Linked DNA regions of Homo sapiens: region 2 is linked to region 1. Evidence: promoter capture Hi-C in human tissues and cell types (Jung and others, 2019). All regions are on one chromosome and are shown on one strand. Each heading gives the region's core, a stretch centred on a gene start or on the middle of the fragment in contact. The rest is flanking DNA. Distances are from core to core; before and after follow the strand shown. Region 1 holds the start of AKR7A3 (aldo-keto reductase family 7 member A3). Region 2 overlaps TMCO4 (transmembrane and coiled-coil domains 4).

Evidence for each region. Contacts are between HindIII fragments. The study calls those that stand out against the background at their distance.
Region 2: a contact is called between a fragment that was not itself captured here and the fragment with the promoter of AKR7A3 in region 1, in 1 of the 25 tissues and cell types used here (bladder).

Annotation. Positions count from the first base shown.
Region 1 is chr1:19,284,648-19,292,548 of GRCh38, reverse strand. It overlaps AKR7A3 (aldo-keto reductase family 7 member A3), which reads left to right and starts at 3,779. Exons shown (of 7, transcript NM_012067.3): 1 at 3,779-4,053; 2 at 6,177-6,364; 3 at 6,557-6,661; 4 at 7,435-7,531; 5 at 7,764-7,863. The coding sequence starts at 3,840. LOC124903867 (a long non-coding RNA gene) reads right to left here and starts at 4,489. Exons shown (of 3, transcript XR_007065521.1): 1 at 4,189-4,489. RefSeq lists enhancers at 2,902-3,723, 3,724-4,546. The HindIII fragment of the contact is 16,987 bases long and covers 1-7,901 here.
Region 2 is chr1:19,710,848-19,718,748 of GRCh38, reverse strand. The region is part of intron 13 of TMCO4 (transmembrane and coiled-coil domains 4); the gene reads left to right. Among named protein-coding and RNA genes, the nearest start is that of HTR6, 50 kb to the right of the region's middle. The HindIII fragment of the contact is 5,014 bases long and covers 4,145-7,901 here.

The DNA of each region.
Region 1 (7,901 bases), core at 2,530-5,029:
TTTTAGTGGAGATGGGGTCTCAGCATGTTGACCAGGCTGGTCTCCAATTCCTGACCTCAAGTGATCTGCCTGCCTCGGCCTCCCAAAGTGCTGGGATTACAGGCATGAGCCACTGCGCCCGGCTGTCTCATTTTTCCTTACTCATTTTCCAAACACATTCCTTACTCATTTTCCAAACATAAACTTTGGTAGTTTGTGTTTTTCAAGGAAATTGTCCATTTCATCTAACTTACTAAATGTATTCACATAAAGGTTTTAATAATCTACCCTATTGTCATTTAAAATGTCATTTAATGTCATTTAATGACATTTAAATATCACTTAAAATGATAAATTTGTATAATTTGTAGTGGTGTCTCTTCTGCTCTTTCTGGTGTGGTTAATCTGTGTATTCTCTCTTTTATTCCTGATCAGTCTAGCCAGAGGTTTATCAACTTTAGCGATGTGTTTATAGAACTACTTCTGGTTTTACTGACTTTTGCTGATGTTTTTGTTTTATATTTCATTTATTTTGGCTTTTTTTTTTCTTTGAGATGGAGTCTTGCTCTGTTTCCCAGGCTGGCGTGCAGAGGAGTGATCTTGGCTCACTGCAGCTTCTGCCTCCCGGGTTCAAACGATTCTCCCACATCAGCCTATTTTGGCTATTATTTTTATTATTTCCTTTCTTCTGCTAATTTTGGTTTTACTTGACTCTTCCTTTTGTGGTTTCTTAAAGTACAAGCCTCGGCCGGTGCAGTGGCTCACACCTGTAATCCCAGCACTTTGGGAGGCTGAGGCGAGAGGATCCCTTGAAGCCAGGAGTTCAAGACCAGCCTGGCAAACATGGTGAGACCCCTTCTCTACTAAAAATACAAAAATTAGCCGGGCATGGTGGTGCATGCCTGTAATTCCAACTACTCAGGAAACTGGGACATGAGAATTGATTGAACCCAGGAGGCTGAGGTTGCAGGGAGCTGAGATTGCACCACTGCTCTCCAGCCTGTGTGACAGAGTGAGACTGTGTCTCAAAAAAAAAAAAAAAAAAAAGTAAATGCTTACATTATTGATCTGAAATATTTCTTCTTTTGTAATATGTCAAAGTGGTGCTATAAATTTCCCTCATAGCACTACTGTGGCTGCATCTCAGAAAATTTGATATGTCCTGTTTTTACTTTCATTCAGTTCAAAATATGATCTAATTTTCCTTGTGATTACATATTTGACCCATGGGTTATTTAATTTCTAAATATGTGGGGATTTTCCAGATATCATTCCATTATTATTTTCTATTTTTCCTTTTTCTTCTATTTGTTAACTTATTTACTTATTTTCAGTTCCCTCTCAGGCTCTAAATTCTGTTATTCTTTTCTTTTCTTTTCTTTTTTTCTTTCTTTCTTTTTTTTTTTTTTTTGAGGTAGAGTCTTTCTCTGTCACCCAGGCTGGAGTGCAGTGGTGCGATCTTGGCTCACTGCAACCTCCGCCTCCCAGGTTTAAGCAATTCTCCTGCCTCAGCCTCCTGAGTAGCTGGGATTACAGGCACACACCACAATGCTCGGCTAATTTTTTTGTATTTTTAGTAGAGATGGGGTTTCACCATATTGGACAGGCTGGTCTTGAACTTCTGACCTCAAGTGATCTGCCCACCTTGGCCTCCCAAAGTGCTGGGATTAAAGGTGTGAGCCACCGCACCCAGCCTGTGTTATTATTTTCTAGTTTAATTCCATCGTGTTCAGAGATGTACTTTGTATGATTGGAATCCTTTCAAATTTATTTATTTATTTATTTATTTATTTTTAATATGGAGTCTCACTCTGTTGCCCAAGCTAGAGTGCAATGGCCTGATCTCGGCTTACTGCACTCTCCACCAACCAGGTTTAAGTGATTCTCCTGCCTCAGCCTCCTGAGTAGCTGAGATTACAGGGGCACGCCACCACGCCTAGCTAATTTTTGTATTTTTAGTGGAGACGGGGTTTCACTGTGTTGGCCAGGCTGGTCTCAAACTCCTGACCTCAGTTAATCCACATGCCTTGGCCTCCCAAAGTGCTGGGATTACAGGCGTGAACCACCGCTCCCAGCCTCTTTTACATTTATTAAGACTTGTTTTATGCCTCCAAATATGGTATATCTTGGTGGATGGGCACTTGAAAAGAATGCATATCCTGCTGTTGTTGGATATTCTATTCATGTTGTTTATGTGGAATTGGTTCATAGCATTGAGTCTTGTATACCTTTACGGAGTTTCCGTAAATTATGACTGATAACTGTTCTACAACTATTGAGAATGGTGTGTTGAAATCTCCAATTATAATTTTGTATTTATCTACTTGTTCTTTAGTTCCATTATTGTTTTTCATGTATTTTGATGATCTATGCTTAGGTGCATATATATTTAGAATTATATCTTCTTTATTAATTGACCTCTTTGTCATTATGGTATGTCCCTCTTTGTCTTTGGTAGTTGTTGTTGTTGTTGCTGTTTTGAGACAGGGTCTCAATCTGCAGCTTCGACCTCCCAGGCGTAGATGATTCTCCCACCTCTGCCTCCCAAGTAACTGGGACCACAGGTGCATGCTACCACAATTTGATAATTTTTAAAATTTTGTTGTAGCGATAAGATCTCCCTGTGTTGCCCAGGCTAGTCTCAAACTCCTGGACTTAAGCAATCCTCCCTTCTCAGGCTCCCAAAGTGCTAACATTACAGGTGTGGGCTAGTATGTCACCCACTGTGTGGGCCAGTATTCTTTGTTTTGCAATCTACTTTGTCTGATATTCACTTAGCCATTCCAACTTCTTAAAATTTAGTTTTGTCAGTGTATGTCTTTTCCCATCTTTTTGCTCTTAAACTATCTCTGCTTTTATATTTGAATAGCTTTCTGGTATTTACCATATAGTTTGGTTTTGCTTTTTTATCCATTCTAACAATCACTGCCTTTTACTTGTGAGCATTTACATCATTTATATTTATGTAATTATTGATATGATTGGGTTTAAATCAATTTTGCTATTGGTTTTTCATTTGTTCCATCTGTCTATTGGTCTTTTTTTTTCTTTTGTATTTGGAGACAGATTTGCCCTCTGTCACCCAGGGTGGAGTGCAGTAGAGCTATCACAGCTCACTGCCGCTGGGCACTGGTCCATTTTTCTATCTTTTTTTTTTTCTTTTGAGACAGGGCCTCCCTATGTTGCCCAGGCTGGGTTCAAACTCCTGGGCTCAAGTGATCCTCCTGCCTTGATCTCTCAAAGTGTTGGCATTACAGGCGTTAAGTCACCAGAGCCAGTCAGTTTTTTTTCACTTAGGTACAGAATTCAATGCCAACAGTTCTTTTCTTTCAACACTTTAACCATGTCACTCCATGGGGACGCTGTCTTGAGCCTTTGGTAAGCCTCATTCTCCAGGACCACACGGCAGGCGCGACAGCCCTAGGTCCACCCCACCCCGTAAGCGCTCCCTCCGGGAGGAGACAGAAACCCAGGACAGCTCCGGGGCAAGGCCGAGGAAGGAGGGACGACGGGGCAGGGAGGCCCGAAGAGTCCCCGCCTTTTGGGATAGTCGCCACCCTTGGACCCCCTCACCCTTGGGGACGTTGAGGAGTGTTAAAATCTCCAAGACGCGAGTCACCGGTACGAAGCCACAGCCATTTCGCTGCTTGCTCGGTGCAAGTGCAGAAGGTCCTAGTAGCCGAGCGTGGAGTCGAGCTCGTGGGCGGCGTCGGGCACCTTCGGCCGCGCCCTCAGCTGCACCCGCCGGTGGGCGGGGCCCGAGCCCGTCTCTAAAGCCACGAGGCCGCCCGCTCCGAGCCTGGTGCTTCCGACCGCTGCGCGCGGCTCCTGGGCTGTCACAGTCTCCCGTTGCCGCCGTCATGTCCCGGCAGCTGTCGCGGGCCCGGCCAGCCACGGTGCTGGGCGCCATGGAGATGGGGCGCCGCATGGACGCGCCCACCAGCGCCGCAGTCACGCGCGCCTTCCTGGAGCGCGGCCACACCGAGATAGACACGGCCTTCGTGTACAGCGAGGGCCAGTCCGAGACCATCCTTGGCGGCCTGGGGCTCCGGCTGGGCGGCAGCGACTGCAGAGGTAACAGTGGCCCCTGATCCTCCCCCTGCACGGTGCAGAGCTGAGCCTGTCCACAGCCGTGTACCGCCCCGCTCTCCCTGGCCCCGGGGCAGCACCCAAAGTTTTGTCCCCCCCACCGCCCCCACCCCTGTTCACCTCGCAGCCTTGGGAACACCAGGCTCCTTAGGCACGTCTAGCTCCGGACAACTTTTCTCTCGTCTTCTCTTCTGTTCGTCTCTCTTCTCTTCCGGGAGGTAGCCAGCACCCTCACTGACGCCTGGATGACTTGGTCTTGCCTGGAATGACTTGGCTAGCCCCTCTCTGGAGCACAAAAAACACTGGGATCTGGCATTGTGCAGCTCCTGTCCCCACCTGTGCCCTCCAGGTGCCCTTGACGGGCCTGATCTGCAGAAATTCTGTTCTTACCGCCTGGCACTCCCTGGCACAGTCCAAAATCAGAGTTTGGACCCAGCACACTATCTGCTTCCTCCTTTGCACATGCCAGCCTGCTCGGGGCCCCGGACTTTGCTCTGAGTACCTTGTGGTACTCACAAGGGCACCTCACAAGGGTGGCAGTGCCCGGAAGCCTTGGCAGCTCCCTCAGGGGGATGAGGGATTGGGGTGGTACAGAGTCTCACTGCCCTCTCTGTGGGAGGCTCTGTCGGAGGCTATTGGAGAGAAATGGACACTAACCCACTCCAGGAAGCTCCAGTTCTAGAGATGGCTGGGGAGCCCAGAGTGACCCCTTCCTGGGAGGGACCCCGTGAAGAAAGAATGGATAGGAGTTTGCCAGGAAGAGTACAAGGGGCAAGGGCGTCAGGGCAGTGGGCATGGGTGTGGAAAGGCAAATGTGTTTTGGCAATGCCGCGGGTGCTGGAGGAGGCAGGTGTGGCCGGAGGGGAGGATGTGTGTATAGGGGCAGGAGGAGCCGCCCTCAGTCTGATGCCATTTGCAGTGCTTAGGCCGATGCCTGGCAGGCACATAGTGAGGGCTGGGAAATGTTAGCTGTTTGTTTGTTCTTAGTATTAGCACCATTTGCCTCCTTCCACTGAGTGTCTGAGTGGAGTCTTATTTCTCCTCTGATTCACCACATGGTAGATCCAGAACGAACCTGGCCTGTGCGTGCATCCCAGTGCCACGCTCTTTCTAGATCACCCGGCTGCCACTCAGTGAGAGCTCTAACCATATTTCTGATTTTTTTTTTTTTTTTGAGACAGGGTCTTGCTTTTTTGCCCAGGCTGGAGTGGAGTGGTGCGATAGGGCTCATTGCAGCTTTGACCTCTCAGGGCTCAAGCCATCCTCCCACCTCAGTCTCCTGAGTAGCTGGGACTACTACAGTAGCACCACACCCGGCTAATTTTTTGTATTATTCATTGAAACTGGAGTCTCACTTTGTTGCCCAGGCTGGTCTTAAACCCCTGAGCTCAAGTGATCCTCCTGCTCTGGCCTCCCAAAGTGCTGAGATTACAGGTGTGAGCCACCACAGATCTGTACCCTCTGCCTGGCCCTTATTTCTGATTTTTTTTTCTTTCCTTTTTTAATCCTTCTTTGTCTTCTGTCTGAGTCCAAGGTTGGCTGGCGAAAGTCCTCAGATCTGATCTGAAGTTAAATTCAATTGAGAAGCAGAGGGGTGGTGGTGGAATGGAAAAATTCCATATGAATAGTTCCTCAAACCTGCTCTTTGCTAGGCCTCAAGGGCTCCAGTGACTGCCCTCCTGCCAGCCTAGGTGACTTTCTAAGTGTGAAAAGTGGGAAGAGGACTCTCCACTCACCTGTTAGTCCAGTTCACTAGGAACTAAGATTCTTTTTTTTTGTTGTTTGTTTTGTTTGTTTGTTTGTTTTTTGAGAAGTCTCACTCTGTGAGACATTGTGCTGTGGCACAATCTCGGCTCACTGCAACCTCCGCCTCCCGGGTTCAAGCAATTCTCCTGCCTCAGACTCCGGACTAGCTGGGGACTACAGGCGGGCTCCACTATGCCCAGCTAATTTTTGTGTTTTTATTAGAGATGGGGTTTCACCATGTTGGTCCAGCTGGTCTTGAACTCCTGACCTTCTGATTTGCCTGCCTCAGTCTCCCAAAGTGCTGGGATTACAGGCATGAGCCACGGCGCCTGGCCCTGAATTTCATTTCTCTTTCCTCTCAGTGAAAATTGATACCAAGGCCATTCCACTGTTTGGGAACTCCCTGAAGCCTGACAGTCTCCGGTTCCAGCTGGAGACGTCACTGAAGCGGCTGCAGTGTCCCCGAGTGGACCTCTTCTACCTGCATATGCCAGACCACAGCACCCCGGTGGAAGAGACACTGCGTGCCTGCCACCAGCTGCACCAGGAGGTGAGGGGACCCCTGAGCTCTGGGAGGTGGTCCACTGCTGCTCTCCTTATCCTGATCCTAATGGTGAGAGCAGAGGCACCAGGGCTGTTCCAGGGTGGAGCAGGGAACAGCCCAACTCCCAGGGGCCCCACCCTGGCCTCCCTTTCCTGGTCTGGGCTGCACTATGTTCTGACTGGAGCCTCACCTGAGCAGGGCAAGTTCGTGGAGCTTGGCCTCTCCAACTATGCAGCCTGGGAAGTGGCCGAGATCTGTACCCTCTGCAAGAGCAACGGCTGGATCCTGCCCACTGTGTACCAGGTGAGAGCCAGGGCTGCAGAGGCCAAGGTCTCCAGAACTCCTGCTCATCCTGGGCTGTCTTTGCCCCTCTGACTGCCCCCTGTGCCCTCTGCATAGCAGCCACTCCCCTGCTGAAAGCCTGCAGATGGCTCCCAGGTACCCTCAGGATGCCATTCAAGCTCCTCAGGCTGGCCACTGGGCATCTGCTTCCTTCCTGCCTATCTGTGCACCTTGGACCCTTCCTTCCCTACCTTCCCCTGCACTCAGCCTGGAACAAGCCCTTCCCCCACCACCGCCCCTTCCGTGAGAGAATGGTTCAGGTCTCACATACGTGTCTCTTCCTCTGGAAGCCTTTCTAGATGGGCCCAGAAGACCCTGAGACCTCAGGTCCTTGTTTACCTCCTCATGATTCATTGCACAAATATTTGCACACCTGCTTGGTGCCAGGCACTGGTCACAGAACTTTCTAGTCTATTATGATTGCCTCATGACTTGATTATAACTGTTTATACTTGACCTTATTATAAAACCTTGAGGGAAGGGACCCTGTCCTTTTGGCTTAAGAATCTAAATCTGACAACCAGCCCATAGTTGGTGCTCATGAAAGTTGGCAGAATGAATGAATTTTCCATGGGCATAAGCTTCTTTCACCAGCACCAGTTAGAATAAGTATACGCCCAGACGGTTAAAGTCCTAGAATTGTTAAGGTCTGAAATAAGGGTTCTGGAAGGGTAATTTTGAAGTCTCTTCTTTTGACACATCCACCCTCTCCCCCGGGGCCCCTCTCCTTACAGGGCATGTACAATGCCATCACCCGGCAGGTGGAAACGGAGCTCTTCCCCTGCCTCAGGCACTTTGGACTGAGGTTCTATGCCTTCAACCCTCTGGCTGGTACGTGGAGCATTCCTGGCCCTGTCTCAGCCTATTCCCGACCCACAGATGCCCAGCCCAGGACCTGGGAAGCAAGGAGGGTTTGACAAACTTTGACCTCTGAGGTCAAAGACGTAAAGGCTGCATCTTCAGCCCTCCTGGGTCCCTGCCCCTCCCCTAGACCAGAGCCCTGAGGGATGTGGCAGCTTCTGGGGCACTCTAGGCCCCGGGGCTGATTGCTGCTTTCCCTCAGGGGGCCTGCTGACCGGCAAGTACAAGTATGAGGACAAGAATGGGAAACAGCCCGTGGGCCGCTTCTTTGGGAATACCTGGGCAGAGATGTACAGGAATCGGTAAGCTGTGGGTGCTTGGTGTGGATGGCTGGGGTGGG
Region 2 (7,901 bases), core at 5,402-7,901, 420 kb before region 1:
CCGTCTCGTTCTTCTTCCCAGTCACCTTGGAAGGTGTGGGCATTATGACACTGGCAACCAGGTGTTGCATTTTCTCTCTCTCTTTTTTTTTTTTTTTTGAGAGACGGTCTCATTCTGTTACCCAGGCTGGAGTGCAGTGGCACCATCATAGCTCACTGCAGTCTCAGACTCCTGGGCTCAAATGCCTCCCACTGCAGCCTCCCAAATAGCTGGGAATACAGGCGCATGCCACCACACCTGGCTAATTTTTTAATTTTTTGTAGAAACAGGGCCTTGCTATGTTGTGCAGGCTAGTCTCAAACTCCTGGCCTCAAGCGATCCTCCCACCTCGACCTCCCAAAGTGCTGGGATAAGACACTGCACATGGCTTCATTTTCCATTTTTATTTTTATTATTTATTTATTTATTTATTTTGAGATGGAGTCTCACTCTGTTGCCCAGGCTGGAGTGCAGTGGTGTGATCTTGGCTCACTGCAACCTCCGCCTCCTGAGTTCAAGCGATTCTCCTGCCTCAGCCTCTCAAGTAGCTGGGATTACAGGTGCCCACCACCATGCCCAGTTAATTTTTTTGTATTTTTAGTAGAGACGGGGTTTCACCATGTTGGCCAGGCTGGTCTTGAACTCCTGACCTCAGGTGATCCACCTGCCTTAGCATCCCTAAGTGCTACAATTATAGGCATGAGTCACTGCGCCTGGCCCATTTTCCACTTTTGAAAATGGGAAACCTGAAGCCCAGGGAGGTTAGGTGACTTCTCCAAGGGCACCCAGCCAGTAATTAGCAAGCCTGGGATTCTAATTCATGTATGTCTAAACCATTTCCTGTTAACCCTTCTTTTATGCTGCCTTTTCCGACAAGCTTGCTGCCCTCAAAGAGCCTACAACCTAGTTAAGAAAATAAGATGCCAGGCTTAAAGCAGGTGAATAACAGAACCAAATGCTGCATCTCAAGGGCCTAGACTTTAAGGGCTGCAGCAGTTCAAAGGAGGAGCCTTTCCTTCCAGAAGGCAGGGAGGGCGCCAGGGAGGAGAGGGCAGGCTTTGAAGGACAGGTAAGCCTCGAGAGGCTTCGAGGCAGGCAGAAGGCCGGAGGGCGCAGGACTGGCAATACCCAAAGTCCAGAGGCAGGAAGGTGCATGTGCTGGGAAGGGCCAGTGACTGCAGCCAAGGTTTCTGCCAGGAAGTTGTGAGAAACAAGGCTGGAGAGATGAACAGGGTCCAAAATGCAGGGCTTGGCCCGTCCAGCAGAAAGCAGAGACCTGGACTCAGGCCCTGACTTGAACCTTCAGTAGTAGCATTTTCACTTGATGTAGTTAATTGATCTATCAGCCAGCAAATGTCTCCTGTGACCTACGCCATGACATCCCAGGACCTGTGCAGGGCGCAGAGGGAACAGCAATCAGGCAGACCCCATTTCCACCAGGTGTGATCTCAGAGGGGAAGGGACCTCCTCCTGAACACCCCATCCTTCAGCCAGTCCTCCCTGCAGCTGGGGAAGCCACACACCCTCTAGTCCTGGATTCCTCTTTTTAAAAATTTAATTTCATTAATTAATTTTATTTATTTGAGATGGAGTTTCGCTCATGTTGCCCAGGCTGGAGTGCAATGGCACAATCTCGGGTCACTGCAACCTCTGCCTCCCAAGTTCAAGCCATTCTCCTGCCTCAGCTTCCCAAGTAGTTGGGATTACAGGCGCCTACTACCATCCCAGCTGATTTTTGTATTTTTAGTAGAGATGGGGTTTCACCATGTTGGCCAGGCTGGTCTCGAACTCCTGGCCTCAGGTGATCCACCCACCTCGGCCTCCAGTGTGCTGGGATTATAGGCTTGAGCCACCGCGCCCGGCCCTGGATTCCTCTTTTCTCACCCGCTCAGCTTCCTTGAGGCTGGCGGCTCCAGCATGGATGCCCAGGGACAGGGCCTCCATGGATACCTGTTGAACTGCACCAAGAGAAGGATGAAGTACCATTTTCAGGTCGGGCCCTTTGCAAGTGGTGTCTCCTCCATCTGCACGGCCAGCCTGGAGGGAGGACACCAGAACAGTCCCTGTTTTTCGAGAGAGCAGGTGCAGGGAGCCCAGGAGATTTATTCATGGTCACACAGCTTGTAAGTGATGGAGCCAAGGGAGGGCCGCTTACCTGTCTGACACCCACACCAGGGTTCTTTCTACTGACCCTTTATCTGTCCCTTTAATTAAAAAAAACAAAACAAAACAAAAAAATTGGCCAAGAGTGGTGGCTCACGCCTGTAATCCCAGCACTTTGGGAGGCCGAGGAAGGCAAATCACGAGGTCGGGAGTTCAAGGCCAGCCTGGCTGACATAGTGAAACCCCATCTCTACTAAAAATGCAAAAACAAAAAAAAAAAAAAAAGAAAGAAAAAAGAAAAAAAAAATAGCCGGGCGTAGTGGCAGGCACCTGTAATCCCTGTAATCCCAGCTACTGAGGAGGCTGAGGCAGGAGAATCGCTTGAACCCAGGAGGCAGAGGTTGCAGTGAGCAGAGATTGTGCCACTGCGCTCCAGCCTGGACAACAGTGTGAGACTCCATCTCAAAAAAATAAATAAATTAATAATAATAATAATAATAAAATAAAAATAAAATAGAGAAGAGGTCTCACTATTTTGCCCAGGCTGGTCTCAAACTCCTGGGCTCAAACAATCCTCCCGCCTCGGCCTCCCATAATGCTGTGATTCCAGGTATGATCCAGTGCACCCGGCCTGTCCCTTTAATTCTATAGTTGAGGGTTTACCCAAATGGCCTTGCCCTCCAGGCAGGGCTAAGCCCAGAGTCCCATACTCATGGCTCCATCTCAGGGACTCCAGGGAGGGGCAGGCTTTCTAGGATGTGATCAGACCCCACTCCCAGGGCGCTCCCTCCGTCTCTAATGGGAATGGCATTGTAGGAAGCTCTTGGGGTAGGGTTCTGCCAGGGAGATGCCCGGGGCTTACATGGTCACCACAGCACCACCTGGTGGCAGCTCTCTGGTGTGCACACTTTCATAGAGGAAAAGGCCACTTCACAGCCATTTCTGCAGCCATCCCTCCTCCAATCCCAGCCCAGGGGGCGTGTCCAGAGGGTGCTTGCTGGGGAGAGTTACCGACTGCCTTTCCTTGAGGGCTCGTGCAGAACTTGGCAGCTGCTCCTATATCCTGAGAAATTTTCATGTCGTCAGTTATATCCGTCTTGTTTTCATTTGACTTGATAAGCATTTATTAGGCACCAAATATACAAAGAGTGGAAGGAACTAATATTTATCAGATACTCGCTGTGACAGGTGATTCTAGACATCATCTCACAGAACCTTCCCAATGAAAACCAGTCTCTAAAAACAATTGTTTTTAATTAGCCATGACTGGTAACCTGTGCCTGTAATCCCAGCAACTTGGGAGGCTGAGGTGGAAGGATCACTTGAGCCCAGGAGTTCAAGGCTGCAGTGAGCTATGATTGTGCCACTGTACTACAGCCTGGGTTATATACAGTGAGACCCTGTCTCTAACATGAATAAATAAATAATTTGTTTTGAGACAGTCTCATTCTGTCACCCAGGATGGAGTACAGTGACACGAACACCACCCTCCGCAGCCTCGACCCCCTCCGGGCTGAAGTGATCCCACCTCAGCACCCCCAAGTAGCTGGAACTGTAGGTGTGCCTGGCTAATTTTCAAATTCTTTTTGTAGAGGTGGGGACTTCCTACATTGCCCAGGCTGGTCTCATGCTCCTGGCTCAAGTGATCCTGCCACCTCGGCCTCCAAAAGTGCTGGGGTTACATGCATGAGCCACTGCACCTGGCCATACTTTTTATTTTTTATTTATTTATTTATTTATTTTGAGATGAAGTTTCACTCTTGTCACCCAGGCTGGAGTGCAGTGGCGCGATCTGGGCTTACTGCAACCTCCACCTCCTGGGTTCAAGCGATTCTCCTCCCTCAGCTTCCTGAGTAACTGGAATTACAGGTGCCCACCACCACGCCCAGCTAATTTTTGTATTTTTAATAGAGACGGGGTTTCACCATGTTGGTCAGGCTGGTCCCGAACTCCTGGCCTCAGGTGACCCGCTCGCCTCAGCCACCCAAAGTGGTGGGATTACAGGCGTGAGCCACTGCACCCAGCCTAAATGATTTTTTAAAAGAGAAAACTGCTCTGGAGAAAATAGGTTCTCAATCTAGGCTACACAGATTCCCATGTATGAGTAGCTGTAAAGATGAGTTTTCAATCCAGTCTTATAAAACCACCATGAAGAAAGGTTGCAGAAACAACACAATCAGAATTAGACCGTTAGTGCCCAGCAGAATGGTCTGAAGAAGCCCTCCCCACCCGCTAAGTATGTTACAGTTTTTAAAGACATAAATTTAAACTTTGAAAATAAGTGGAAGGAACAAGACATTGAAAAAAAGAATACGGAGATCTGAAAATAAATCAAATGTAACTTGTAGAAATAAAAAAATAGAGTCATTACAATGAATACTGGATAAATTAAAGTGGTTTAGACAAAACTAAAGAGAAAAATAATGAACTGGCTGGGTGTGGTGGCTCACACCTGTAATCCCAGCACTTTGGGAGGCCAAGGTGGGTGGATCAGTTGAGGCCAGGAGTTTGAGACCACGCTGGCCAACATGGTGAAAACCCGTTTCTACTAAAAATATAAAAATTAGTTAGATGTGGTGGTGTATGCCTGTAATCCCAACTACTTGGGAGGCTGAGGCACAAGAGTCACTTGAACCTGGGAGGTAGAAGTTGCAGTGAGCTGAGATCACACCACTGCACTCCAGTCTGGGTGACAGAGAGAGACTCTGTCTCAAAAATAATAATAATAATAATGAACTGGAAGATTGATTTGAAGAAATTAACCACAATGCATCATGGAGAGATAAAGAGATGGAAAATAGGAATTAAATTAAAGTTTGACATTTGCTTATAGAAATCCCCAAGAAAAAGAGAATAGGGGAGAGAGATAATTTATTGGCTGAGAATTTTCCAGAATGAATCTCTGCGCTTCAAGGAGCATGTTTTTTTTGTTTTTGTTGTTGTTGTTGTTGTTGTTGATATATTTTTAGAGACAGGGTCTTACTCTGTCATCCAGGCTGGAGTGCAGTGGTACAACCATAGCTCACTACAGCCTTGAACTCCTGGGCTCAAGCCATCCTCCTGCCTCAACCTCCTGAGTAGCTGGGACCACAGGTGCACACCACCATGCCCACCTGGATCTTGCCTAAAGGATTCTACCTGGGCTCACTCCTCCAGTTCTTTATGTGGATCCTGCCTTAGCCCAGGACTCCCAAAACCACATCCCCAAAAGCCAGCCACTTGCCAACAGCCTGCCATCATTCCCAGTGTTTCCCCCACCCCTTCCCCTTCTTCCTGGGTGAGAATTTGGAGAAAGATTCATCCTGAACTAGTGTCTTAATGGATTTAACCTGTTGCCCACTACACATGAGCCATCAGTATGTTGCAGTGTTTCAGACATATTGTGTACATCTGTGGTAGACTGATGGCAAAAAACGGCCATAATTCCCACCCCTGCCTGTATCCACATACTTTACAATGTGACCTTGAAACCCCTCCCATCAAGAAGTGTAGTCTGTTTCCCCACCCCTTGAATCTGGGCTGGCCTTGTGACTTGCATTGGCCCATAGAAGGCACAGGAAATCGCATCATGCCATTTTCAAACCTAGGCCTCAGGAGGCCTTGCACGTGAATTCCACTCTCTCCTAGAACCTCACCATAAGAATGGGTCCAAGTTAGTTCCTGGGGGGATGAGAGACCCCACCGAGCAAAGCTGGCTCATCCCACCCAGCCTCAGCCTAGCTGCCAGCTGGCTGCAGACACATGAGTGCACCCAGTGGGATCAGCCATGCCTGGATGATTTTAGCAGAATTGCCCGGCCAATTTGTAGGCTCATGGGAAATAATCACTGATTATTTTAAGCCACTGAGTTCTGGGATGGTTTGTCACACGCCAATAGCTAACTGATAGAAGACATATGGCCTTCTATGTCCCTGTGTCACATTTTGATAATTCTTGCAATATTTCAAACCTTTTCACTAGTACATGTGCTCACCTTAAGCCTCTGTGACACATTTGGTAATTCTCACAATATTTCAAGCCTTTTCTTTTTTCTTTTTTTTTTTTTTTGAGACGGAGTCTCGCTCTGTTGCCCAGGCTGGAGTGCAGTGGCATGGTCTCAGCTCACTGCAACCTCTGCATCTCAGGTTCAAGCGATTCTCCTGCCTCAGCCTCCCGAGTAGCTGGGATTACAGGCACCTGCCACCACGCCTGGCTAATTTTTTGTATTTTTAGTAGAGACAGGGTTTCACCATGTTGGCCAGGCTGGTCTCGAACTCCTGACCTCATGATCCACCTGCCTCAGCCTCCCAAAGTGCTGGGATTACAGGTGAGAGCCACTGCACCCAGCCAAGCCTTTTCATTATTATTGTATCTGTTATGGTGATCAGTGATGTTTGATGTTACTATTGTAATTGTTTTGGGGCACCACAAACATTGTCCATATAAGACGGTGAACTTAGTAAATGTTGTGTGTGTTCCGATGCTCCACCAGCTGGCTGTTCCCCACCTCTCTCCCTCTCCTCCAGCCTTCCTATTCCCTGAGACACAACAGTATTGAAATTAGGCCAATTAATAGCCCTACATGATGGATAGCTGGGCCCAGTGGCTCATGCCTGTAATCCCAGCGCTTTGGGATGCAGAGGTGGGAGGATTGCTTGAGCCAAGGAGTGTGAGACCAGCCTGGGCCACATGGCGAAACCCTGTCTCTACCAAAAAAACTAGCAAAAACTTTACCGGGCACCATGGCTCATGCCTGTAATCCCAGGACTTTTGGAGGCCAAGGTGGGTGGATCACCTGAGGTCGGAAGTTCGAGACCAGCCTGACCAACATGGAGAAACCCCATCTCTACTAAAAATACAAAATTAGCCAGGCATGGTGGCGCATGCCTGTAATCCCAGCTACTCAGGAGGCTGAGGCAGGAGAATCACTTGAAACCAGGAGGTGAAGGTTGCAGTGAGCTGAGATCACGCCATTGCAATCCAGCCTGGGCAACAAGAGCAAAACTCTGTCTCAAAAAAAAAAAGCAAAAAATTAGCCCAGCATGGTGGTGTGTGTCTGTAATCCCAGCTTCTCAGGAGGCTGAGGTGGGAGAATCACTTGAGCCTGGGAAGTCGAGGCTGCAGTGAGCCGTGATTGCGCCATTGCACTCCAGCCTGGGTGACAGAGCGAGACCCTGTCTGAAAAACAAGCAAATAAATCTCCCTACAATGACCTCTAAGTGTTCAAGTGAAAGGAAACATCACACATTTCTCACTTTAAATCAAAAGCTAGAAATGATTAAGCTGAGTAAGAAAGGCATGTTGAAAGTGAGACAAACCAAAAGCCAGGCGTCTTGCATCAAACAGCCAAATTGTGAATGCAAAGGAAAGCTTCTTGTAGGAAATTAAAAGTGCTGCTCCAGTGATCTCAGAGTGTGGGAAAATAGCACCAACAGACTTAGTTGAAGCAGGGCTGCCACAAACCTTCAATTTGTAAGACACGTAATATCTGTGAAGTGCAGTAAAGCAAAATGCAATAAAATGAGGCATGTGTGGTACACGTAGAATGAAACTTCTTGTTCTCTACTGGCTCACCGCCTGCAGCTTACCAGCAGCTATATTTCTCAAAGTTCTATTGTTAACTCAAACTCATCTTTCTGATGGGAAAATTGAGTTCCCGTAGCAGGATGTGGGCCAATTGCCTAACTCTCCATCAAAGACTAGAAAGTGTGTCGTGTTTCACATGGCCCCTGTTCTTTTTCATAGCAGTATCTGTTCACCCACCTCCACTTTGGCACATGTGCTAGAGATTACCAAAGCAAAAGGCCACATGCTCTTGGCCGGGTCTATACATCGGGATA